Regions from separate parts of the Homo sapiens genome. Here region 2 is linked to region 1. The links are contacts of gene promoters, found by promoter capture Hi-C in human tissues and cell types (Jung and others, 2019). All regions are on one chromosome and are shown on one strand. Each heading gives the region's core, a stretch centred on a gene start or on the middle of the fragment in contact. The rest is flanking DNA. Distances are from core to core; before and after follow the strand shown. Region 1 holds the start of APOBEC3F (apolipoprotein B mRNA editing enzyme catalytic subunit 3F). Region 2 holds the start of ADSL (adenylosuccinate lyase).

What was found. Contacts are between HindIII fragments. The study calls those that stand out against the background at their distance.
Region 2: a contact is called between the fragment with the promoter of ADSL here and the fragment with the promoter of APOBEC3F in region 1, in 1 of the 25 tissues and cell types used here (dorsolateral prefrontal cortex).

What each region holds. Positions count from the first base shown.
Region 1 is chr22:39,038,681-39,044,450 of GRCh38, forward strand. APOBEC3F (apolipoprotein B mRNA editing enzyme catalytic subunit 3F) reads left to right here and starts at 2,184. Exons shown (of 7, transcript NM_145298.6): 1 at 2,184-2,297; 2 at 4,257-4,410. The coding sequence starts at 2,281. RefSeq lists enhancers at 1,994-2,053, 3,106-3,883 and a silencer at 4,730-4,960. The HindIII fragment of the contact is 19,854 bases long and covers 1-5,770 here.
Region 2 is chr22:40,343,419-40,349,188 of GRCh38, forward strand. It overlaps ADSL (adenylosuccinate lyase), which reads left to right and starts at 3,082. Exons shown (of 13, transcript NM_000026.4): 1 at 3,082-3,293. The coding sequence starts at 3,141. RefSeq lists silencers at 782-954, 3,335-3,424 and enhancers at 2,597-3,110, 3,111-3,624, 3,625-4,137. The HindIII fragment of the contact is 18,864 bases long and covers 1-5,770 here.

The DNA.
Region 1 (5,770 bases), core at 934-3,433:
TCTCACTCTGTCTCCCAGGCTGGAGGGCAGTGGCGCGATCTCGGCCCACTGCAACCTCTGCCTTCTGGGTTCAACTGATTCTCCTGCCTCAGCCTCCCGAGTAGCTGGGATTTCAGGCACGTGCCACCACACCCGGCTAATTTTTGTAGTTTTAGTAGAGACCAGGTCTCACCATGTTGGCCAGGTTGGTCTCGAACTCCTCACTGTCATGCGTGTCTGTATAGAAAACCACCTAAACAGGCTTTGTGTAAGCAATAACGCCATTTATTCACTTGGGTGCAAGTGGGCTGAGTCTGAAAAGAGAGTCAGCGAAGGGAGATAAGAGAGGGGCAGCTTTATAGGACTTGGGTAGGTGGTGGAAAGTTACAGTCGAAGGTGGTCATCTGTTGTCAGCAGGGGAGGGGGTCACCAGGTGCATGGTGGGAGACCATGAGACCCATTGTCCAGAAGAAGAATGTCATAAGGTCGATTGATCAGTTAGGGTAGGGCAGGAACAAGTCCTAATGGTGGAATGTCTTAAGGTTGGTTAATCAGTTAAGGGAGAAACTGGCTGTTTCACTTCTTTTGTGTTTTTTTGGCTGCTCCAGACTTCTTGGCTGCTGCAGGCCATCTGGATGTATATGTGCAGTTCACAGGGGTCACAATGGCTTAGCTCCGGCTCAGAGGCCTGACACTGACCTCAGATGATCCACCTGCCTCGGCCTCCCAAAATGCTGGGATTACAGGCGTGAGCCACTGTGCCTGCCTGGGATCATATGTTACACGCATGTTTGTTCAATAAGCATGGAGTGCAGCCACCCACATGAATATTCATAGCTCCTCCTATAGCCTGTTGAATATGTATGTTTAGCCAACCCCTTCAGCATAAAGCTCCTGCCCCAACCCCTCCTGCTTCTAAATGTCTGTCTCTGGTGTTTCCCAGAGGCTGCTCTTCCCAGGCTGCGGGATGGCTACCTTGCTGCCTGTCACCCTTAACAAGAAATAAAATCTCCTTTCCAAATTTATACATTGTGGCCAGGCGCGGTGGCTCACACCTGTAATCCCGGCACTTTGGTACGCCAAGGCGGGCGGATCTCCTCAGATCGGGAGTTCGAGATCAGCTGACCAACATGGAGAAACCCTGTCTCTACTAAAAATACAAAAATTAGCCAGGCATAGTGGTGGGCGGCTGTAAGCCTGACCAACATGGAGAAACACTGTCTCTACTAAGAATACAAAAATTAGCCTAGGCGTAGGGGTGGGTGCCTGTAATCGCAGTTACATGGGAGGCTGAGGCAGGAGAATCTTTTGAACCTGGGAGGCAAAGGTTGCGGTGAGCTGAGATTACGCCACTGTACTCCAGCCTGGGTAACAGAGCAAGTCTCCGTCTCAAAACAAACAAACAAACAAAAAAACACAAAAAAACAAAAGCAAACAAAAAAACCAAATGCATCCCTTGTGTAATTTTTAGGTCACCGCGCCATGGGAACACGCTACCAGGGGAAGGGAGCTGTGAGACGCGCAGGGAGGCTCCAGACAGGCTGGCCTGGGACACCAGCCACTGCTCTTCCATGACATGGGGACAAGAGGAGGCGAGAGCTCAGCCCACCAGGGAGGAACTCCGGGCAGGAGATGGGGAAGAAGGAGAAGCAGGAAGGAAAGAGCTCAGTGTGGGGGCGCGCATGGCATCCCGGTGGGACATCTGAGGCCCACACCCACCTGCTGTCCCTCCCTCCCACGGTGGCCTCCGAGGGTGAAGGCCTGGGGAGAGGCAGACACCTGGCCCTTTACTCTCCCTCCCTGTCCCCATGGCCGCTGGGTGGGGGCCGTCTCTGGGATGATCCCCGAGGGCAGGATCCGGGAGTCCCTGCGGAGGCATCAGCCTGTCTGTCTTGATGGTGGAGAGGAGGCTCCAGCTGGGCGGGACCACCAGGGGAGGGGCTTGTGCTCTGCTGGCTCAGCCTGGTGTGGACCCACCTCGCGGGCGCTGGCTGCAATGACTTTCTCTTTCCCTTTGCAATTGCCTTGGGTCCTGCCGCACAGAGCGGCCTGTCTTTATCAGAGGTCCCTCTGCCAGGGGGAGGGCCCCAGAGAAAACCAGAAAGAGGGTGAGAGACTGAGGAAGATAAAGCGTCCCAGGGCCTCCTACACCAGCGCCTGAGCAGGAAGGGGGAGGGGCCATGACTACGAGGCCCTGGGAGGTCACTTTAGGGAGGGCTGTCCTGAAACCTGGAGCCTGGAGCAGAAAGTGAAACCCTGGTGCTCCAGACAAAGATCTTAGTCGGGACTAGCCGGCCAAGGATGAAGCCTCACTTCAGGTACCGCTGCCCGCTCTACCCGCTGGGCCCCTCTGCTGCCCCTTCCTGCCTGGTGGCTCTGCTGGGCGTCAGCCCTGGCCTCCCCCTGCCCCAGCCCCAGCCCTGGGCTCCCTCCCCTCTGGCTCCCCTGCCCCCGCCACTCCCAGCCAGGCTCTTTTTCCTGCTCTGTGGTTGCCCCACTGCTGCTTCTGAATAGGCCGCTTCCCCACCTGCCCCAGCCCAGGTGCCCTGCTGAGACTCTCCCCCGCCACCGAAAGTCATGGCAGGGCTGGTGCTCCCGGCCCTGGGAGGGTGCTCCCTCTGTGTTCTTTCCGCCATTCCTGAACTCTGGAACTGGGAGAATTGAACCAAAGGATGATTAGAGCAATGTGGAATTTTGTTCACAGTGCTTTGATGGATTTTCTGTAACATTTACTTTGCTTAAATAGCAAGTCTTAGGAGAGGGTGTGGGGAGGGAATGGTCTCTGAAGCACAAGATAAATCGTATCTTCCAAGGATGTCTCCACTGTGGGCAGAGGAGGATGCAGATGACCCCAAACACACGCTCCTCCTCCACTATCAGCATTCACTGTTTATAAATGACACGAGTAACATGGAATATAGTGGCCGGGTGCGGTGGCTCACACCTGTCATCCCAGCACTTTGGTAGGCTGAGGTGGGTGGATTGCCTGAGGTCGGGAGTTCGAGACCATCCTGATCAACATGGATAAACCCTGTCTCTACTAAAAATACAAAATTAGCCGGGTGTGGTGGCGGGCGCCTATAATCCAGCTACTCCACAGGCTGAGACAGGAGAATCGCTTGAACCCAGGAGGCGGAGGTTGCAGTGAGCCGAGATCGCCCCATCGCACTCCAGCCTGGGCAACAAGAGCCAAATTTCGTCTCAAAAGAAAAAAAAACAAAAACAAAAAACATGGAATATATGGGAAAAAAACTCAATGATCAGGAGAAATGCTATTATTTTAAAATTTAGTAAGAAGAGAGTCTGGTCCCCAATGGCTCCCTCCTGCAAGGCTGGTGACACAGAGACTGGACAGGGCTGGTCTGGTAAGAGGCCCCAGCCCCATCCGTCCCCAGCTCTGTGGCCTGGGCAGGTTACCCCATCTCTCTGCGCCTCTGGCACCTCCTCTGTAAGATGGGAATGGCCCGTGCGGGCCTAGGGCAGCCTCACATGAGCTCACATCCGCGCAGCACTTAGAAGAGTGGCCTGGGCCTCAGAATTCGGTTCTACCATGATTTAACAATAGTAATATACAGAGGTGAAATGTCAGAAGGAACTGGCTGAAAGGTTAAAATCTATTATTTTGGGGTGAATAGTTTTATTCTCTCTCTCTTTTTTTTTTTTTTTTTTGAGATGGAGTTTCGCTCTTGTAGCCCAGGCTGGAGTGCAGTGGCACGATCTCGGCTCACTACAACCTCCGCCTCCCAGGTTCAAGCGATTCTCCTGCCTCAGCCTCCACAGTGGCTGGGATTACAGGCACCCACTACCACGCTTGGCTAATTTTTATATTTTTAGTAGAGACTGGGTTTCACCATGTTGGTGAGACTGGTCTCAAACTCCTGACCTCAAGTGATGGGCCTACCTCGGCCTCCCAAAGTGCTGGGATTACAGGCATGAGCCATAATGTCCAGCCAAGAACTTTGTTCTCTTTTGCATTTTACTAATGCGTTGGAGAATGGGTGGGAGAAATACTGGGAAGGTGGGGAATGTACTCCTGGAACGACCAGAGCTGGACCCTGAGCTGGAAGAGGTCAGCCTGCCCCTGCTGCCCATGCCAGCATCCCCTTTTCTTGCTCTCTCCCCGGTCTTCCTGCCTGGGAAGGAAGCAAAAATTCTCAGGGCTGTGGAGGGGTTGGGGAGGCCCAGAGCCATGCAGGGGGCTGTGTTTAGTGGACATCAGCCCTGAGGGCTCCCGGGAGCGCTCTCTACATTGGCTGGTTTCTCTCTTGTGTCTTCAGAAACACAGTGGAGCGAATGTATCGAGACACATTCTCCTACAACTTTTATAATAGACCCATCCTTTCTCGTCGGAATACCGTCTGGCTGTGCTACGAAGTGAAAACAAAGGGTCCCTCAAGGCCCCGTTTGGACGCAAAGATCTTTCGAGGCCAGGTACCACCCGGACTTCAATCACTTTGCAGGCAGGAGCTAAGCCAGCTGGGAAAGCAAACCACGCACTGATAAGTGAAGTGCCCGGCGGCGGGCTATCCAGTGTGTCCTTCTCTCCCACACTTTCCAAGTCCGTGGCCCTGACCTTCCTGCTGGACCGTCCTGGGATCGGATCGTGGAGGGGGTTTGCCTTTGCACAAAAGGCCTTGTGTTTTTTTTTTTTTTTTTTTGAGACAGAGTTTCACTCTTGTTGCTCAGGCTGGAGTGCAATGACGCGATCTCGGCTCACAGCAACCTCTGCCTCCTGGGTTCAAGCGATGCTGTCGCCTAAGACTCCCGAGTAGCTGGGATTACAGGTGCCCACCACCACGCCCAGCTAATTTTTTTTTTTTTTGTATTTTTAGTAGAGACAGGATTTTACCATATTCACCAGGCTGGTCTCGAACTTCTGACCTCAGGTGATCCACCTGCCTCGGCCTCCCAAAGTGTTGGGATTACAGGTGTGAGCCACAGCGCCGGCCTAATTTTAATATTTAATTAATCCAATGTGGCTAACATATTACTTCAACATTAATTAACATAAAATTCTTGACAAGATAATGAAGTTTCTTTTTGTCACACTGAGTCTTTGAAATGAGCTGTGTAGGCCACGCTTGGTGGGTGGCTCGCGCCTGTAATCCCAGCACTTTGGGAGGCCGAGGTGGGTGGATCACCTGAGGTTAGATGTTTGAAAACCAGCTTGGCCAACATGGTGAAATCCCGTCTCTACTAAAAATACAAAAAAAAAATTAGCCCGGTGTGGTGGCAGTCGCCTGTAATCCCAGCTACTTGGGAGGCTGAGGCAGGAGAACCGCTTGAACCCATGAGGCAGAGGTTGTAGTGAGCCGAGATTGCATCATTGCACTCCAGCCTGGGCAACAAGAGTGAAACTACGTCTCAAAACAAAAACAAAAAACAAAAAAAGATAAATGAGCGGTGTATGGTGTATTTTTCAGGTGCCCAGGTCTTTCATCAGAGCCCCATTTCAAGTGCTCAGTAGCCCCTTTGGCCAGTGCGCCCCACCACATGGGACAGCGCAGGTCCAGTGGCCTCCCCAGCTGACCGCAGGCAGGGAACAAGGCAGACCCTAGAGGGCCAGGCCACAGCAGGGGCTGAGGATGCCTGGTGAATGGATGCCTGGGAGAATGGATGCCAGAATTCACGCATGAGGCTCTGAACAGGGCTGGGAAAACTTCCAAACGAAGGGAAGCTCATGTCTTGGTGCACTTTGTGATGATGCTTCAACAGCAGGACTGAGATGGGGACATTTACAATAAACAGAAATGTATGGGCTCGAGTTCTGGCCTCTGGGAAGTCCACTGTC
Region 2 (5,770 bases), core at 1,832-4,331, 1.3 Mb after region 1:
TCTGACAGCTAACTCTGGAGTTCAGGTGGAGGCATGAACAAGCCAGGGAATGAGGACACCGAGGAAGTGTGGAGGAAGAGGAAGTATAGTGGCAGAATCTAACTTGTATCATGGCTATTGTGGGCGTTATTTCTCTTACTGGGCTAGGCTCCTTTGGGGCAGCATTTATGCATCCAGCAAACATTTACTGAGCACCTATGCTATGCCAGGTTTGGGGCTCAGTGCCAGGAACACAGACATGATCTCTTGCCCCACTGAGTTTGCCATCAATGAGCAAGGCAAGCAACACTGAATTCTGGTAAGAGTTTTGAAAGAGATGCCAGGAGGTCTCAGCATCCAGCCGGGCGTGGTGGCTCACGCCTGAAATCCCAGCACTTTGGGAGGCCAAGGTGGGTGGATCACCTGAGGTCAGGAGTTCAAGACCAGCCTGACCAACATGGAGAAACCCCGTCTCTAAAAAAAAAAAAAAAAAAAAAACAACGAAAAAACAAAATTAGCCAGGTGTGGTGGCGCATGCCTGTAATCCCAGCTACTCAGGAGGCTGAGGAGGGAGAATCGCTTGAACCCGGGAGGTGGAGGTTGCGGTGAACAGAGATCACACCATTGCACTCCAGCCTGGTCAACAAGAGTGAAACTCTGTCTTAAAAAAAAATAAATAAATAAATAAAAGAAAAAGAGGCCGGGCACGGTGGCTCATGCCTGTAATCCCAGCACTTAGGGAGGCCGAGAAGGGCAGATCAGAAGGTCGAGACCATCCTGGCCAACACGGTGAAACCCCATCTCTACTAAAAAAAATACAGAAAATTAGCCGGGTGTGGTGGTGGGCGCCTGCAGTCCCAGCTACTAGGGAGGCTGAGGCAGGAGAATGGCGTGAACCCGGGACGGGGAGCTTGCAGTGAGCCGAGATCATGTCACTGAACTCCAGGCTGGGCGACAGAGCGAGACTCTGTCTCAAAAAAAAAAAAAAAAAAAAAAAAAAAAGAAGCCGGGAGGTCACTCAGCATCTAAGAAAGCCCAGAGGTGTGGAGGGAGAACACTGTCATGGGTGCTCCATAGGTTTTTGAGTGAATCTGTGAATGAAAGCAGGAATGGGAAGGTGACTGGAAAAGAAGTTATTGTCAAAGAAAAGATCTTGAAGCCTTGAGATCTAATCATGTACTTTTTTTTTTTTTTTCTTGAGTTGGAGTCACACTTTGTTGCCCAGGCTGGAGTGCAGTGGCACGATCTCGGCTCACTGCAACCTCCACCTCCTGGGTTCAAGTGATTCTCCTGCCTCAGCCTCCTAAGTAGCTGAGATTACAGACACCTGCCACCACGACCTGGCTAATTTTTGTATTTTGAGTAGAGATGGGGTTTCACCATGTTGGCCAGGCTGGTCTCCAACTCCTGACCTCAGGTGATCCACCTGCCTCAGCGTCCCAAAATGCTGGGATTACAGGTGTGAGCCACCGTGCCTGGCCCTTAATCATGTACTTGTAATAGTCTAGAAATATTATGGTTATTGGAAAAGTGAAGTTAACTCTCAGCAAATAAACTGGGAGTTAAAATTGGAATTCCTCCACAGGTCTCATTTTAGTAAGGCACTCAGAAACAAGTAATTTCAAAGCAGCATAGTACTGGGCTCAAGCGATCTTCCCGCCTCGGCCTCTCAAAGTGTTGGGATTACAGGCGTGAGCCACCACACCTGGCTTGAGTGTCTTTAGATTCCTCACGTAAAAGGCAGAGAGCTAGGAGTTAAGTGCAGGTGGAGAGGGTGCAGGCACCCGGCTCTTTTCGTTTGTTTTGTTTTTGAGACAGGGTCTCACTGTTGCCTAAGCTGTAGTGGCAAAATCATGGCTTACTGCAGCCTCAACATCCTGGGCTCAAGTGATTCTCCCACCTCAGCCTCCCAAGTAGCTGGGACTACAGGTGCACACCACCATACCCAGTTAATTTTTGTATTTTTTGTAGAGACAGTGTTTCATCATGTTGCTCAGGCTGGTCTCCAACTCCTGGACTCAAGCGATCTGCCCAGCTCAGCCTCCAAAGTGCTGAGATTATAGGCGTGAGTCACCGTGCCCAGCTGAGACACCTGGCTCTTACAGCTCCAGATGAACCCTTTCCTGTGTGATCACCCCACTGGCACTCCAGACTGAACAACATAGCAAGACCCTGTCAAAAAAAAAAAAAAGGGGGGGGGCCACTTGAGTGTTTCTATTTCTATTTATTTATTTAATTCTTTTATTTTTTGGAGACGGAGTCTCGCTCTGTCGCCCAGGCTGGAGTGCAGTGGCGCGATCTTGGCTCACTGCAACCTCCGCCTTCCGGGTTCAAGAAATTCTCCTGTCTCAGCCTCACAAGTAGCTGAGACTACAGGTACAGGCCGCCATGCCCGACTAATTTTTTGTATTTTAGTAGAGACAGGGTTTCACGTGTTGCCCAGGCTGGTCTCAAACTCCTAAGCTCAGGAAATCTGCCTGCCTCGACCTCCCGAAGTGCTGGGATTACAGGCGTAGGCCACCGCAGCCGGCTCACTGGGGGCGCAGTAAATGCCGATTTCCCTTGGGTATCTTCATTTCTCCTTAGAGCCGAGCTCGGTGCGCCGCGGGCAGGAGTGGGTGGGGCGACAGTAATAAGAGTAACAGCAAGCGTACACACGGCCTTCCAAGTGTGCCAGACACCGCTCTAACACTGAATCCGCACAACCCGAAAGGCAGGCCTTTTTTTTTTTTTTTTTTTTTGCTTTTTGTTTTTTAGAGACGGGAGGGTCTCCCTGTGTTGCCCAGGCTGGTCTCGATCTGTCGGCCTCAAGCGATCCTCCGGTCTGGGGCCCCCACAGTGCTGGGATTACAAGCGTGAGCCACCGCGCCCGGCCAAGGAAGTCTTAATGTACCTCTTTTCAGACAGGAAAACTAAAGTGTAGCGCGGCTAAGTAACGTAGGAAGCATCAATCATGTTTCTGGTCAAAGAAGCGAACCAAGTCAATTCTCAGGCAGAAGCAGCGGAGATTCTCCGCAGCCGGCAGCGCCCAGGGCGCCCGGAACCCAGAGAGCGAGACCGCGTGAAGGAAGTCCCGCCCCGCCCCGTCCTGCCCTGGCCTCCAGGTTTCCGCTTCCGCTCTTCCCTGGTCCAGTCCACCCTGGCGGGGTCGCAGGGTTGGGATGGCGGCTGGAGGCGATCATGGTTCGCCCGACAGCTACCGCTCACCTCTTGCCTCCCGCTATGCCAGCCCGGAGATGTGCTTCGTGTTTAGCGACAGGTATAAATTCCGGACATGGCGGCAGCTGTGGCTGTGGCTGGCGGAGGCCGAGCAGGTAACGGATCCCGGGCTGAGGGGCTGGGCCGGGAGGGACGGGCCCGCCCCAGCACGTGCCGGGCTCTGTTCCGGGCTGGGCTTAGCCACCCCGGAGCTGCGGCCCGGCTATTTTCAGCTGGGTGTTCCCTGTCCTGAGGAGCTGCGGCCCCAGGAAAGCAAGGGCAGGAGATCCGGGAGCCGCCACCTGTTGCCTCACGTGTTCTCAGTCCGAGAGGGTTCGAGACGCGGAGGAGGCTGGGAGAAATTCAGCCTGTAGTTTCAGGGAATTCATTTTGGCCATCCCCGCAGGAGTACGCTGCTAACCACAGACACCGAGCGCTTGTTTCGTACTGTTGTGCTCATTATTTCACTAATCTTTTCTTGTGTAATCCATGAAGATCTTGCAGGCTTGATGGTGTTTTTCCCACATTGCAGGGGAGAACAAAGCCCGGACAGCTTGTTGTTTGCCCTAGCCCATCCAGCTATTAAGAACGGAACTGGGATTTGAACCTGGGTGCACTCCAGAGCCTGAGCTGAGCACGTAGCCCCTTGGTTTTCCACAGTGCCTGTGTAGTTAGTGACAGGACTGGAATGCTTGTTTTCTAGGCCACCGTTTCTGCCTCACTGGCCTCCGCTTTGCCTCTTAGGAGAAGACTCCGGGTAGGGGTTTATTAAACGGGGTTTATAATTTCTTTTCTAAGGGCTGCATAGAGAACTTCTTAGCCCAGCGGTTTCAGAAATAGCTCCAGAAGAGTTGAAGCAAACTGAAGGTGATCCAGAGAGCGATAATGTTTCTCCTCAAGTTTCAGAGGAAAGTGCCACAACGAGCAAGTTGGCAATGCCCTCTCAAACGGCACAGTAAACATGGAAACAATTTGACTTCGGGCCTAGGACCTGTACCATGGAACTCTCCAAACAGGAAACTTTCATTCTAGATTCCCTCCCTCCCCTTATCACTGCCCTCCAAAATATTGGGCGATACACTACAATAATAGCAGACATTCAGATAGTGCCTTCTGAGACCCAGGTCTTAACCCTTTACACATGGTTGCTTATTAATCCTCCAAACAACCCTGAAGAGTAGGTATGAAATACTATGACTGTACCTGTTTTACAGATGGAAGAATGAAGCATCAACTTAATAAACTCTTGGCGTAGATAGCGATAGTAGTAGACCTTAATCATGTGTTGTGGTTTGTGATGTACTAGTGTGTACTCTTTCTATTTCATCTGATATTCTATTCTGTAGATGAGGGTAGTGGTACTCAAGACTTTGCCAGGGTCGCCAAAGCTAGTAAATGGCTTCAAGCTGGAATTGGAATGTAGAGTCTGAGTATGTGTTCTTTGTGTTGGCCTAAAATGCATACAATTTTGGCTTTGGATTATCTGTTAGGGTGTCAAAATTACCATAAATTGCATAATAACTTAGTAGCTAAGAAAAAACTTGGAGAATAAGAGATTAGGAGGAATGCAGAAAATTTGTAGTAAGGAAAGTATGAATTTTGAAAAGATAAATTGCTTGAGGGGAGGAAGCAGTATGGCCGTGCTGCCCTCTGCTGCTTTGCTTTGGAAGGAGCCCAGAGGTGTCATGTCTTCTGTGACTGTAAAGGTTCCAGGCAGTTCTGCCACATGTGGCTGCCGAGTACTTGAAATGCAGCTAGTGTGACTGAGAAACTGACTTTTTACTTTTATTTATATATTTAGGTTTTGAGACTGGGTCTGGCTCTGTCGCCTAGGCTGGAGTGCAGTGGCACAATCTTGGCTCGTTACAACCTCTGCATCCTGGGCTCAAGCTGTCCTCTCACCTCAGCCTCCCAAGCTGGAACTAGAGGTGCACGCCACCACGCCCGGCAAATTTTTGTGTTGTTTTGTAGAGATGGGTCTCACTGTGTTTTCCAGTGCGGTCTAGAACTTCTGGACTCAAGCGATCCACCGACCTTGGCCTCCCAAAGATGTGAGCCACCATACCTGGCCTGACTTTTTACTTATAAATATTTTCCAATACTTTTTAATTAATCAATTTAAATTTAAATAGCCATATCTGGCTAGTAGCTCCTTTCTTGGATAAAAAAGATCTAAGATGCAAGATCCTTCCCGGAGTCACTGTTTGCAAGTTTCAAGTGAGGTTTAAATCAGTTTCACCACTGTTTGTATTCAGCCCTTGGATCTAAGTTCCGAGCTGCCTGTGGGCTGCCAGCTATTTTTTGCAGCCTAATTTTTCCAGTGATGGATGAATGTAAGACATCAATGTGTTTATTTTCTCATCAATATCTCCTGGAATTGCTTTCAGTTGCACTCATTTGCTGTATATAATTTCCTGGCAAAACTACTTACAGAATTTCTAAATTTGGTTTCTGTAAATCCATCTAAGTAAAATGGCCACCATCATGCCAAGCACTAAGGATTAAGCAATAAATAAAACAAAGCTCCTCAAGAAGTATTCATTCTAGAGGGAAATGACAGGTTAATAAATATGTAAAAATGTCATGTGGTGAT